Linked DNA regions of Homo sapiens: region 2 is linked to region 1. The links are contacts of gene promoters, found by promoter capture Hi-C in blood cells and fetal thymus (Javierre and others, 2016). All regions are on one chromosome and are shown on one strand. Each heading gives the region's core, a stretch centred on a gene start or on the middle of the fragment in contact. The rest is flanking DNA. Distances are from core to core; before and after follow the strand shown.

Evidence for each region. Contacts are between HindIII fragments. The CHiCAGO score rates a contact against its expected background, and 5 or more counts as called.
Region 2: a fragment that was not itself captured here is called in contact with the fragment with the promoter of ADAMTS6 in region 1 in 1 of 17 cell types (M2 macrophages); the score reaches 5.4 in M2 macrophages.

Annotation. Positions count from the first base shown.
Region 1 is chr5:65,478,202-65,484,207 of GRCh38, reverse strand. ADAMTS6 (ADAM metallopeptidase with thrombospondin type 1 motif 6) reads left to right here and starts at 2,288. Exons shown (of 25, transcript NM_197941.4): 1 at 2,288-2,865. RefSeq lists enhancers at 2,086-2,135, 1,909-2,408, 2,176-2,535. The HindIII fragment of the contact is 619 bases long and covers 1,861-2,479 here.
Region 2 is chr5:64,222,124-64,228,129 of GRCh38, reverse strand. The region is part of intron 5 of RNF180 (ring finger protein 180); the gene reads right to left. Among named protein-coding and RNA genes, the nearest start is that of RNF180, 59 kb to the right of the region's middle. The HindIII fragment of the contact is 6,267 bases long and covers 1-5,655 here.

The sequences.
Region 1 (6,006 bases), core at 1,039-3,538:
GGTCACACTTGGACACTTGAAACTGGATGATGGCTACATGAGTGTTCATTATACTGTTTTTTTTTTTACTTTTGTATATGTTTGAAATTTTCTGCAATGCAGTTAAAACATTTACACAAACACATATATATACACATATATAAAGTTAAATTGACAGTTCGCCATTTCCCACCCTAATCAATTTTCACCAATTATTCACAGTATTCTTGACCCAATCAACTTGGAGACAGAATCTGTTGGAAAAATTTCATTACTCTGTTTAGACACAGGATGGCACTCTTTGAATAAGTAATTAGCCAAAGTCCACTCCCACTAAGTAAGCTCCTCTACAAGCTGCTACTTTGTAGGGCAGTTTATCTTAGTTGAGGGTAAAATCTTTTCAGAGCTTATATAGATGTTTACTGCTCATACCTTTATTTTTTGTGTGTGTGCTGGCTGTCCCTATTTACTGCCAGTACTTGAAAAATTAAGGAAGGTTAAGGTTCAACACTATTTAAATAGTCATTTGATGCCTACTTTTCTTATTTTTGGTGTTTACAATTATTGCTATATTTTGCTACCTCATGTATTTCACATATATGTACACACATATATATACACATACAAATACGCACACATACATACATACATATGAATCATCTTTATTTAAAACTCAATGCCCACTATTGAACAGATTTCTACATTTTAAATGGCTTTTAGCCAGATACTACTGATTAAGGTCAGGATGAGGACTATTTACTCTGTGGACAGATGCTTTCCACTTTCAACCCTTGAAGAAGAATTGAAATAACTGTATTCTTGGACGTTCTCAGTCTGATTCATGCCTCCTTTTAGCCAACTATTCATAGATTCACCAGAAGAATTACACCTACTACCTCCGGCGTAGGAAGAAAAAAAAAAATCAAATGGGCAATAATGTTAGCAGAAGCTTGATATTTAAGAGCTGGTATTCAGAAAGATCATCCTTCCTACCCCCTTCCCTCCGGTCCAGTTCTCCTTTCTGGTTCTCACCATCGGAAATTGACTTGGCATTAACTAAGGGCTGGAATTTCAAGGCGTCAATTTTCCCCTGCCCCCAACCTCGGAAACTCTTAAACAGCTCCCTATTCTACACTCAATGGTAGAGACAGATAAATGATGCAGCAGATTACACCGTTGAAAGGCAACATTTGTCCTGAGCTATTTTCACATTTTTTCCTGTTTCCGATGTATGTGCCAGACTTTGTTTGCTTGCTTAGGACATGGAAAACACTGGGCATTTTCTCCCCAGCGGCTTTCATTCTCAGCAAATGAAAGTGAAAGTGCTACATTGTAGCGGTATTTTATCCTTAAAGTCTGGACTGGCAGCTTGTGTGTAGGGGGGAGGGAGGGTGGGATTGGGAAGGTTGAAGAACCAGTTTTGAGGTTTTGTTTGTTTATCTTGAGATCGCAGCAGGGTTCCTGTTTTTTTCCCTTCCTTTTTTTTTTTGGTGGTGGGGTCCTACTTCGGATTTATTTTCATTTGGGCAGTCATTGAAGTTTCATTCAATGGACTGACTTAAAAAAATACACTCCACTTGTGGCTTTTCCCGGTTGCACTTTAAAACACCATCCAGTCTCACCCTCATCTGGAAATAATGCAAGCTTCTCTCTTCCTTCCCCCGCTCCCTCCTCCCCTACTTTTTTTTTTTCTTCTTCTTCTTCTTTTAAAGCTCCACATAACCTGAAGTCGATAATCAAATGGAAAATGTGCTGGTATTAGTTTACTTTAGTTTACTTTCCCTTTTGGTGCTAACCTTACTTGCTGAAGTATGTATAAAACACAGGCATTTTGTACACTTGTAGCTACTGAGTCTTGTGCCTGCTGCACGAATCTAAGCTTTAAGTTTCCTCAGAGGCACTGTTTGCGTGCAAGTTTTAACATTTTGATTGTGTGGATTTTAAAAATAAAATTACACGGAGAATGACACCAGAGATCTTAACAGTGACATTAGTCCATCTAAAGTCATTCATCCTTCTCCCTCCCCCTTCATTTTTCCAAGAAACAACTAATAGCAAACCAGGCTAGAATTTCTAAGAGAGTTTAGAGGAGGAGGAGGAAAAGAGGCGGAATGAGATAGGACAGAGAGGTTAGAGAGGCCAGAATTTCTCTCATTCACAGTGTGGAAAAGTTGACATTGTCTAAGCCCTTCTGAATGGCTGGTAGTTGGTTACCCCGATTGTACCTCTACCTCCCCTCCCCCTCCACGTGACGACCCAGGACACATGCGCACCCGACGCAGCCCAGGCACATCTGCAGACTGACGTCAGTGTGCTCTGCCTCCGAGGAAAAGCTGCCAAAATTTTCTCCTGCTGCAATTCAAGTTGGCTGGGGGCCGGTAGTGAGATCTAGGGCTACTTCAACAAAACTTTGCTGCCCTTCCTGCTCCTCTTGTCTTCTTTTCTCCTGATACCTTTTGATGCTCTGCACATGTTATTTGCATAGCAAAGGCACTAAGCTTTCCAGGAAGAGAGGGCACCACTTCCACCCCCAATAAGTCTTTTTTCCCGTCTTTTCTTTCTTTTCCTTTCCTTTTTTGGGGGGTGGGGAGGGAGAGAAAGGGGGTTTGCAAAGGCAGCATCTCAGAGTGATAGCCTAGATGTATTGAAGGCATCTCTTATTCTGCCAAATCGGAAAGTCAGTTCTCTAAAGCCCGGGTTAGCCAGACCATAGGGTTTTATTCTGGCTGCAGAATAACTGGCTGGTGTGGCTTTGCAAAGGGGGGCAAAAAATAAAAAAATAAAAAAAATTAAAAAAAGTTAGAGAGGAGAGGGAGTACGTGAGTCGTCCAGTGCAATCTCTATTGTCTGAAACTTACTTTTTATCAGAATTTGAAGATGAAAACGGTAAGGAAGACTTAACAATATTCAATGGAGCTTTTTTTTTTTAAACCAACAACTTGTGCTTTGCTTGTCTTCCGAATAACGCTTAGAAAACTTTTTTTCTGTGTGTGTGTTTTTTTTTTTTTTTTTAATGGCAATGAGTGAGCTTGACTGAACTCATTTTACAAATAGATATCTTTTTAACTCCAGACTTGTCGGGGGTTGTAGAATTCTGGGACTTGCAGTTATTTTATGATGCAAAAAAAATACGTTTATTTTATGAATATACAATACATGTTTTGTGAAGTGGACTTGATTATGATTATTGTAATCTTTTAACTGATCACCAAATAGTAATCCGGAAGGTAATAATGATGTGTGTGTTTTAAATTGATTTCCAGTTTTCTTACAGAAAAGTCTTATGCATTTTGTAGTTTCATGTCAGTGTCGTTAAGTCTTCAGACAAGTGCATATTTTATGCCTGGGCTCAGAGGGTAGCATTAATGTGCTAGCTGTAGCCCCGATGCTCTAGGACATGTTAAGCTCTTAATAGGCTAATCAAAGAGATGGAAACGTGTGTTTTTGATTTACTTTTGGCCACTTGGGACGTGCTAGACTCATAACCCTCCGGAGCCTTGTTTATCGGGGTAGGTCTGTATATATGGTGTATGGGACCAAAGTTCAGGGATTGAGGAGGGAGAGTGAGAGTGCAGGAATGGGGTATTGGGAAGCCTCTTTCTGATAATATGTGCTACAATTCCTGTCTTTGATGCTTTCTTTCCCTGTACTAGAGGAAAAGTGAGCGAGAGATTGAGAAAGCGCACTGAGAGGGAACAAGAGAGTGAGTTTCTTACTCTTGTTTTTATTTGAGCTGCCGGTGCAACGCGTTTGGGCCAGATGCCAACTGTCTGGGTCACACGCGTTTTATCCAAATAGATTTAGCGCTGCTGTCTGGAAATGGGCTGCTGAATGTTAACTTTAGGATCAACTCAACCAGGGCAGCTCAGACTGTTACCCTCTGTCTGGGCGAAGTGGAATGGTGGGGGCGGGGGGAGGTGAGGGTGTGCAGAGCAGAGAGAAAAAGGGAAACTGAACCATTGCTTGGAACTTTAAAAGAGACACTTGAGTGTGATTTTCAACATGTTCTTTTTATGTTCAAGTGTCGTGGACTAATTTTCTGTTCTTTTTTCTTTCTTTTTAGTTTCTGTTGATTAGACTGAAATGTTTAGATGTGGGGATGACAGTTTTCAGAATTCATGACAGGAAAAGAAACGTAACACAAAATTGGTGTAGTTGAAAGAAATTAAGAAAATTAATTTTGGAGATAATTGTTTTCTTGTGTTGCAGCAAAGTGGTAACTGCAGTCTGGTTTATGTTAATTCTGTGCTTAAATGTGATCGTTAGTGTTTTGAATTTTTGAAGAATAGCATTTAGAGGCAAATACGTTGATTTCAAACAAATCAAATTCATTCATTTGCCACAGCTGCAAATGAAGTCTGTGTAGTGGTCTTAATATTTTTGTGATTCCCAAGAAGAAAAACTTCTAGCCTGAAGACTGAAAATACTGTAATACTCCTTATGTCTGGTCCCAATACCTGTAAGATTAATTCCTACTCTTGTCTACTCTTAGCACTTCCTCTTTCTTTCCTTAGTAATCACTAGTAGTAGTAACTAGGATGGGTCTTTATGCCAAATTTTATCAAGTTTGTGACTTTAGTGAGTGAATGAAGGGAGTTACCATATTAAGAGATAGTTAACAGCATATTTGGAATATGTGTTGGGGGTAGTGGGGAGAAAAAGAGGGGAAGAGGTGGATAGCTCTCTTGCTTCTGCCAAAAAACATGGTTGATTATCAAGCTAAGCTCAAGAGAAAAAATTTATAATACAGAAAATGTGTATTTACTTGCTATCTGGAAAAAAGTGTGAGACTACATGTAATTTAGGGCTTGAGTTTTATAAATCATGGTTTGTATTTTTGCTTTTAGCTCATTTGCTTGATAGATATGTTTTGGGTAATTTATGTGTTTAGTTTCACCTTTCCTTGGAAACCAATCTCACAAATTTTATAAATGATCTAGAAACCTTTATACTTAGAGCCTAATTGTGTCCTTAGCATACAGTAGGTGATAATAAATGTGAGAGAATAAATGGAAATGAAAGAAGTTAATTTTCATATGTAAAAATTAAACACCTGAAAGGAGCATGGTATTGTTGTTTCTTCCATGGAGACCAAATCAGCCTTAAATAAATAACCAGAGTTAAGATGGATGAAAGAAGTTGAGAAGAACATTATACACATTCTTTAGCTTCATAATAATAGTTCACAAGAGGAAATTATTACCTTGGCTACTCCCCGATCACTTGAGTGGGAAGTAAAGATGATAGAGGAAAAAAGACAAGTAATACCCTCCAATCAGGGCAGACTACTGAGGAAATCACTATAGTGCAAGTTGTCTCATCATTTTTCTTCTTAGGTAGTGTAGCTTTGATCCATGGAAGCAGGTAAATGATCCCTTAACTTTACTGCCTGGTGCATTTGTGTTAGGGAGAAAAGCATATGTGAAATCAAAGTGAAATGGACGTTTTGGTTCTGTTTTCAAATTTAAAGTAGTTATAAGTATCATTATCATGACCAAAGTTCTTAACTCCTTGCTGTAAAAGACAATATAACTAGTTGATTGACTCCATCATCATATCTATTATTTCACATTTTTGAGGGAAAGAGGAACATGAAACTATTTTTGAAGGAAGGGCTTTGAAAAGTGATGTTAGATAATGAAGGAAGGAGGGCTAATATTATTTAGCTTAAAGTACAGAGACACTTTACGTCATATGTAATCTAATCTCTTAACAAGTCTTTGTGAGATAGACATCAATATCATGGTTTTATAGATTAGAAAGCAGATGCAGAGAGGTTAAGTAACTGGGGGTCAGGCCAGGACTCAAAGCCTTTGTGCTTTCCACAACATAATGATGTTTCTGCTATACAATTTAAAAGGTCAATGCATTGTGATTTTTGGACAACTGTTTGGTATTTCAATGTTAGTCTGAACTTTGGAAACTATATCTGAAAAGTCACAGCCTCTACATATTTATGGTGTCCAGATTAACCTCCCCACCAGGTGTCAGAAAGTGGGTTAACTCATTCACTTTTATTGTGTAGGT
Region 2 (6,006 bases), core at 1,273-3,772, 1.3 Mb after region 1:
CTTTGTAAAAAGGAATCCCAGGTGATAATTACAGTTGGTATGCTGAGCCAAGGAGAGGATTCCAGGTACCTCCCAAGTTTGGGGGCACATGGAGGCTGATATTGTAAGGTCTCCACACGTGAGAGGAGTAGGTGAGATTTGCATCTCCACATGGGACAAGGCAGGACAAGGAAGCACTACCAGCAAGTGACTATGGTTTTAAAAATGGGTAAGGGCAGACATGGAGCAATGAGAGAGAAAAACAGGTTGGCAGTGTACATCTTGGTTGACATGGTAAATAAAACCAAATGTGCAGATTTATTTTTTATTTATTTATTTATTTTAAAAGTGAGATATTTCTTAAAAGTTTAGTGTACAAACAAAATGAAGGTACCTTCACATTTTACTACACATGTGCAGATAGTTTTCTTGGTGCACAGAGATAAGGCAGAATTAAGTTAGAATAAACATGTTCTAAAACTGACCTCCAGAAGAACTAGTCTTAGTCATTTCTTTGCAGAGTATGTGAACCAAGATTCGGGTTTGGTCTTTGGTGTTAGCACTGTGTCAAGGATCAGATAGAAAGTACAAATGGAGGGGCCCCTTTCTGAGGCCAGGCCCCACTGTCAGGGCATGTGGGGTGACCAAAGGCCAACAACCAGCTGAGGCTAAGAGGCTGCTCTGAGGAGGGCGGGGCTCCAGGTGCCTCTTGAACCCTTTGTTCGGGACCAGGACATGTGTGGCTGGGCAGCAGCCTTCAGACCCCCCACAGGCTGGTGCCCGGTACCCACAGCCTTCTGTTGGGTTGTCAGGCCCCTGCACCCATGGTGGGGTGCTGGGCTCCAGAGTTCCCTGGGACCAGCTGATCTCGTCCTTGGTTTTGGCCCAAATGCAAGCCCCTGGTCTCCTCCAAGTAACTTCCTTTCCCCAAGGCTGTCCAGGCCCCACCGCTGCCTGTTCCTTCCCAGGGCCTCCTGCAAGTCCCGATGCTGACGCCTCTCTGCCCACCTAGTTTGTGGCCGCTGCCTCCAGCTCTGTGTCTGCCTCCCAGCGAGGGAGCCGTGGTTGACGATCTCGTGAGTGTCTGCCCTTCTGAAGGGTACAGTGTGAAGTCTCGTCAGTCTCATTTAAATGCCTAAGCACCTCTTCAGAAACCAGGGAGTCAGCCGGGTTTCTCCATCTTTAATCATGTTTTCTAAAGGTTTTCTTGGCAATTTCCTGGCAATTTGCAAGACAGGACTTTTTGGTTGCCAACTTCCAATTAGCTTTAAACTTGCCACGATCTCCCAGGTCATCCCATCCATCGATGATGCTTATTACATTCTTCCTGATTTCCATGTGGCCAAATTCAATAGTTATTTACCCCAGGCTTGTATTTTGGAGGCTAAAGAACTCTGTTACCAGCTATATCTGTGCTGTGGCTGCTGTAGCAAAATATCACAAATGTGGCTTAAAACAACAAAAATTTTTTCTTTTTTTTTTTTTAGTATTTATTGATCATTCTTGGGTGTTTCTCAGAGAGGGGGATGTGGCAGGGTCATAGGATAATAATGGAGAGAAGGTCAGCAGATAAACACGTGAACAAAGGTCTCTGGTTTTCCTAGGCAGAGGTCCCTGCGGCCTTCAGCAGTGTTTGTGTCCCTGGGTACTTGAGATTAGGGAGTGGTGATGACTCTTAACGAGCATGCTGCCTTCAAGCATCTGTTTAACAAAGCACATCTTGCACCGCCCTTAATCCATTTAACCCTGAGTTGACACAGCACATGTTTCAGAGAGCATGGGGTTGGGGGTAAGGTTATAGATCAACAGCATCCCAAGGCAGAAGAATTTTTCTTAGTACAGAACAAAATGGAGTCTCCTATGTCTACTTCTTTCTACACAGACACAGTAACAATCTGATCTTTCTTTTCCCCACATTTCCCCCTTTTCTTTTCGACAAAACCGCCATTGTCATCATGGCCCGTTCTCGATGGTCGCTGCCTCTTCGGAGCTGTGGGGTACACCTCCCAGATGGGGCAGCCGGGCAGAGGCACTCCTCACTTCCCAGATGGGGCAGCCAGGCAGAGGCGCTCCTCACTTCCCAGATGGGGCGGCCAGGCAGAGGCGCTCCTCACTTCCCAGACGGGGCGGCCGGGCAGAGGCGCTCCTCACTTCCCAGAAGGGGCGGCCGGGCAGAGGCGCTCCTCACTTCCCAGACGGGGCAGCCGGGCAGAGGCGCTCCTCACTTCCCAGATGGGGTGGCCAGATGGGGTGGCCGGGCAGAGGCACTCCTCACTTCCCAGACGGGGCGGCCGGGCAGAGGCGCTCGCTTCATCCCAGACGGGGCGGCCGGGCAGAGGCACTCCTCACCTCCCAGCCAAAGGGAGGCTGGGCAGAGGTGCTCCTCACATCTCAGACGAAGGGTGGCCAGGCAGAGGCGCTCCTCACTTCCCAGACGGGGCGGCCAGGCAGAGGCGCTCCTCACTTCCCAGACGGGGCAGCCGGGCAGAGGCGCTCCTCACTTCCCAGACGGGGCGGCCGGGCAGAGACGCTCCTCACCTCCCAGACAGGGCGGCTAGGCAGAGGCGCTCACTTCCTCCCAGACGGGGCAGCCAGGCAGAGGCGCTCCTCACCTCCCAGACGAAGGGCGGCCGGGCAGAGGCGCTCCTCACCTCCCAGACGGAGGGCGGCCAGGCAGAGGCACTCCTCACATCCCAGACGATGGCCGGCTGGGCAGAGGCGCTCCTCACATCCCAGACGATGGGCGGCCAGGCAGAGGCGCTCCTCACTTCCCAGACAGGGCGGCCGGGCAGAGGCGCTCCTCACTTCCCAGACGGGGCGGCTGGGCAGAGGCGCTCCACACTTCCCAGACGGGGCGGCCGGGCCAAATGTGCAGATTTAGAATGAAAAAAAGATAGTTTTTCCTATGCGTAAGGCCAAAAGAGCTGAAGCCATCACCTAGTTCTATTCATCAAACACAGCTAGCACTAAGCTCAGACCAAAATGGTTAGTTCCAGTTTTCTGTGTGTGTTACTACTCTGAGACTAGCTGATGATTCTGATTTTTTCCCCTAACAAGCTGGCTTTACATAAAACTTAGCATCTTATTCCTTTTGGGTTGCTAGTAACAGAATGCCCAAGACTGGGTAATTTATTGAGACAAGAAAATGATTTTCTCACAGTTTGGGAGGCCAGCAGCCCAAGGTCAAGGGACCAGCATTTGGTGTGGTGAAGGCCTCCTTGCTGCATCCTCACATGGCAGAAGGTGGAAGGGTAAGAGAGCAAGCTAGCCGAACACTGTATACAGCCTGTTTCAAAAGGGCTTTAATTCCATTAATGAAGAAGGAGTCCTCAGGCCTAATTATCCTTTAAAGGCCCCATCTGTGAATACTATCACATAGGCAACATATGCATTTTGGAGGTGACATGTTCAAACCACAGCACTTGGGAAAGACAGCATGCATCTTTGCTGTTCTCCTACCTCCCAACTGACATTTCCCCCCAGTGCCTGAGGACGTCAGTGCTCTTTTCTCAGACCTTTCCTATACTCCAGTGACCTAGTAGCTCATGTAAATCTGGTAATGCAAGTAAAATACCTCCCACTGTACCTAGCATACAATAAAGCTCATTAAATATTAACCTGCTGTCATCACCTCACCACTACAACTTCTCCCTCCCATTCTCTTTCCCCCTTGCTCGTAATCAAAACTCTCATTCTCTCAATAGCAGGGTAAGAAAAGCTATATAAATGAACTAAACATTACTTGGACATAAATATTTATACCATTTTACTGCCAGGGCCTATATTAGGTGTTGGACAGCATAGGATCAAAATATTTTCTCTCTCCCAGTATGGTTCTTTATCTACCTTTGTTGGCCTGGCAACCACTGAAATCAGCTGTCTTTCCCTCTATAACATCCATCAGAATTTTCTTTGCTGCTGTTAATAAATCCTTTGTCAAGGACTCTATCAACTCAAGTCTAAACCTCTTTAAATTCCTTTTGTTTACCTCTCTTCCTTTCAATAGTTTTTGACCCTGGAATAACTTGAGATATAAATATGTATGTACACACACACACACACACACACACACACACACACACACACACCCCAACCTAGATCAACTGAAGAAAATCTAACAGAGCCAATCATGCTTGCTCCTTTGTGACTACTTTAGAATTCGCAGTTGCATCTCAAGGTCTTGGCCAAAGCAATCCCATATTAAGTAAACTGCTGTCCAAAATTCTCTACAATATGGCATTTCTGCAAATACCCAAGAAAATGATTACTGAAATTCACGTGTCTCCCCCCCTCTACTTCCATTTCCAGGAAGCGATGATATTTCATTCATTGTTGTATCCTCAATACTTGACACAGTTTCTGGCAAAGAGTAAACTACCAAGTGATCATTAGTTACATGAAGGAAAGGATGAATGAAGAATAAAGATATATGATAGTAAAATGTTTTCTGAATCATCAAAAAAAAAGATAAAATATGTGGGAGAAAAACTTTCTTTCTTGAAAGGCTGTGGAATAATGGTTAAGGGCACAAACTTTGGGACACAGGTCTATTATCACATACTAGGTTTGTAGGCCTAGGGAAGTTATTTAACCAGAGACTCAGTTTCTCCATCTATAAAATAGGGATAATAATAGAAATTATCTCTAAAATTGTGTCAAATTAAATGAAATAATGCACTCAGAAAAATAACTGGCATCCAGAAAGGTGAGGCAGGCAGAATAATGACTCCCCAAAGATGTCCAGGTCCTAATCTAAGATCCTGTGAATGTACTACCTTACATGGGAAAGGGGACTTTGCAGCTATGATTAAGTTAAGGACCCTGAGATGGGAAAATTACCTTGGATTATTCAGGTAGACCCAATGTAATCACAAGGGTCCTTAAAGGGTCAGAAAGAAGATGTGATGAAAGAAAATAGGAGTTGTAGTGATGCCATATGGCTGGAAGGGGGCCACAAGCCAAGAAATGAGGGTAGACTCTAGAAGCTGGAAAAAGAAAGGAACAGATTCTATTATAGAGCCTCCAGAAGAAATACTACCCTGTCAACATATTGATATCAGCCCCACAAGGCCCATTTTCAGATTTGTGACCTTCAGAACTATAAGATGATAAAACTGTGTTATTTTAACCAATGTTTATAGTGATTTGTTATAGCAGCAATAGAAAACTAATGTAAGGGATATGTAAGTGTGACAATTATTTTTCCTCTGTTACAAAACATTCTCAAGTTAACATCAACAGTGATAACTCATGTTGATAGTATGTATTCTTCTAATAAAGAATGGCATTTTATCTCTGTAGTCTTCCTCCCCGAAACTCATGTGCAGAGAAGAGATAACATAGCATATTTGTCTTCATTTACAAGGCTGGCCCTTGTGTCATCCAGAAACTTGAATTTTGGGAGAGCTCCCATCATCCTAATTGATAATAGTGACTCACTGTGCCCAAACTACAATGTGATTTATGCTTAACACCTGTTTTCCTTCCAGAAGTTTGGAATTTTGGTATGTGTCAGACAGTGGGTACCTATGTGACCAGCTCCCAATAAAAACCTTAGCTACTGAGTCTATAATGACCTTCCTGGTGCACAGCATTTCACACCTGTTGTCATAACTTACTGTTGAGGGAATTTAGCACATTCTGTGTAACTCCATGGGGCGAGAACTCTTGGAAGCTTGCACCTGGTTTCCTCCAGATTTCACCCCCATGTACCCCCTCCCTTTGCTGATGTTGGTTTATATCCTTTTGTTGTAAGATGAGTTAATGGGTGCAGCACACCAACATGGCACATGTATACATATGTAACTAACGTGCACATTGTGCACATGTACCCTAAAACTTAAAGTATAATTAAAAAAAAACATAGCTGGAAGTATGAATTCATGCTTAGTTCTATGAGTCCTCTTAGTGAATCATCAAATACAGTAGTTTTGGGAACCCATGACACAACCGATAAGCCCAGTCTAATCATGGGGAAAACATCAGACAAATCTCAGTTGAGGGGCCTTTTACAAAATAACTAACCAG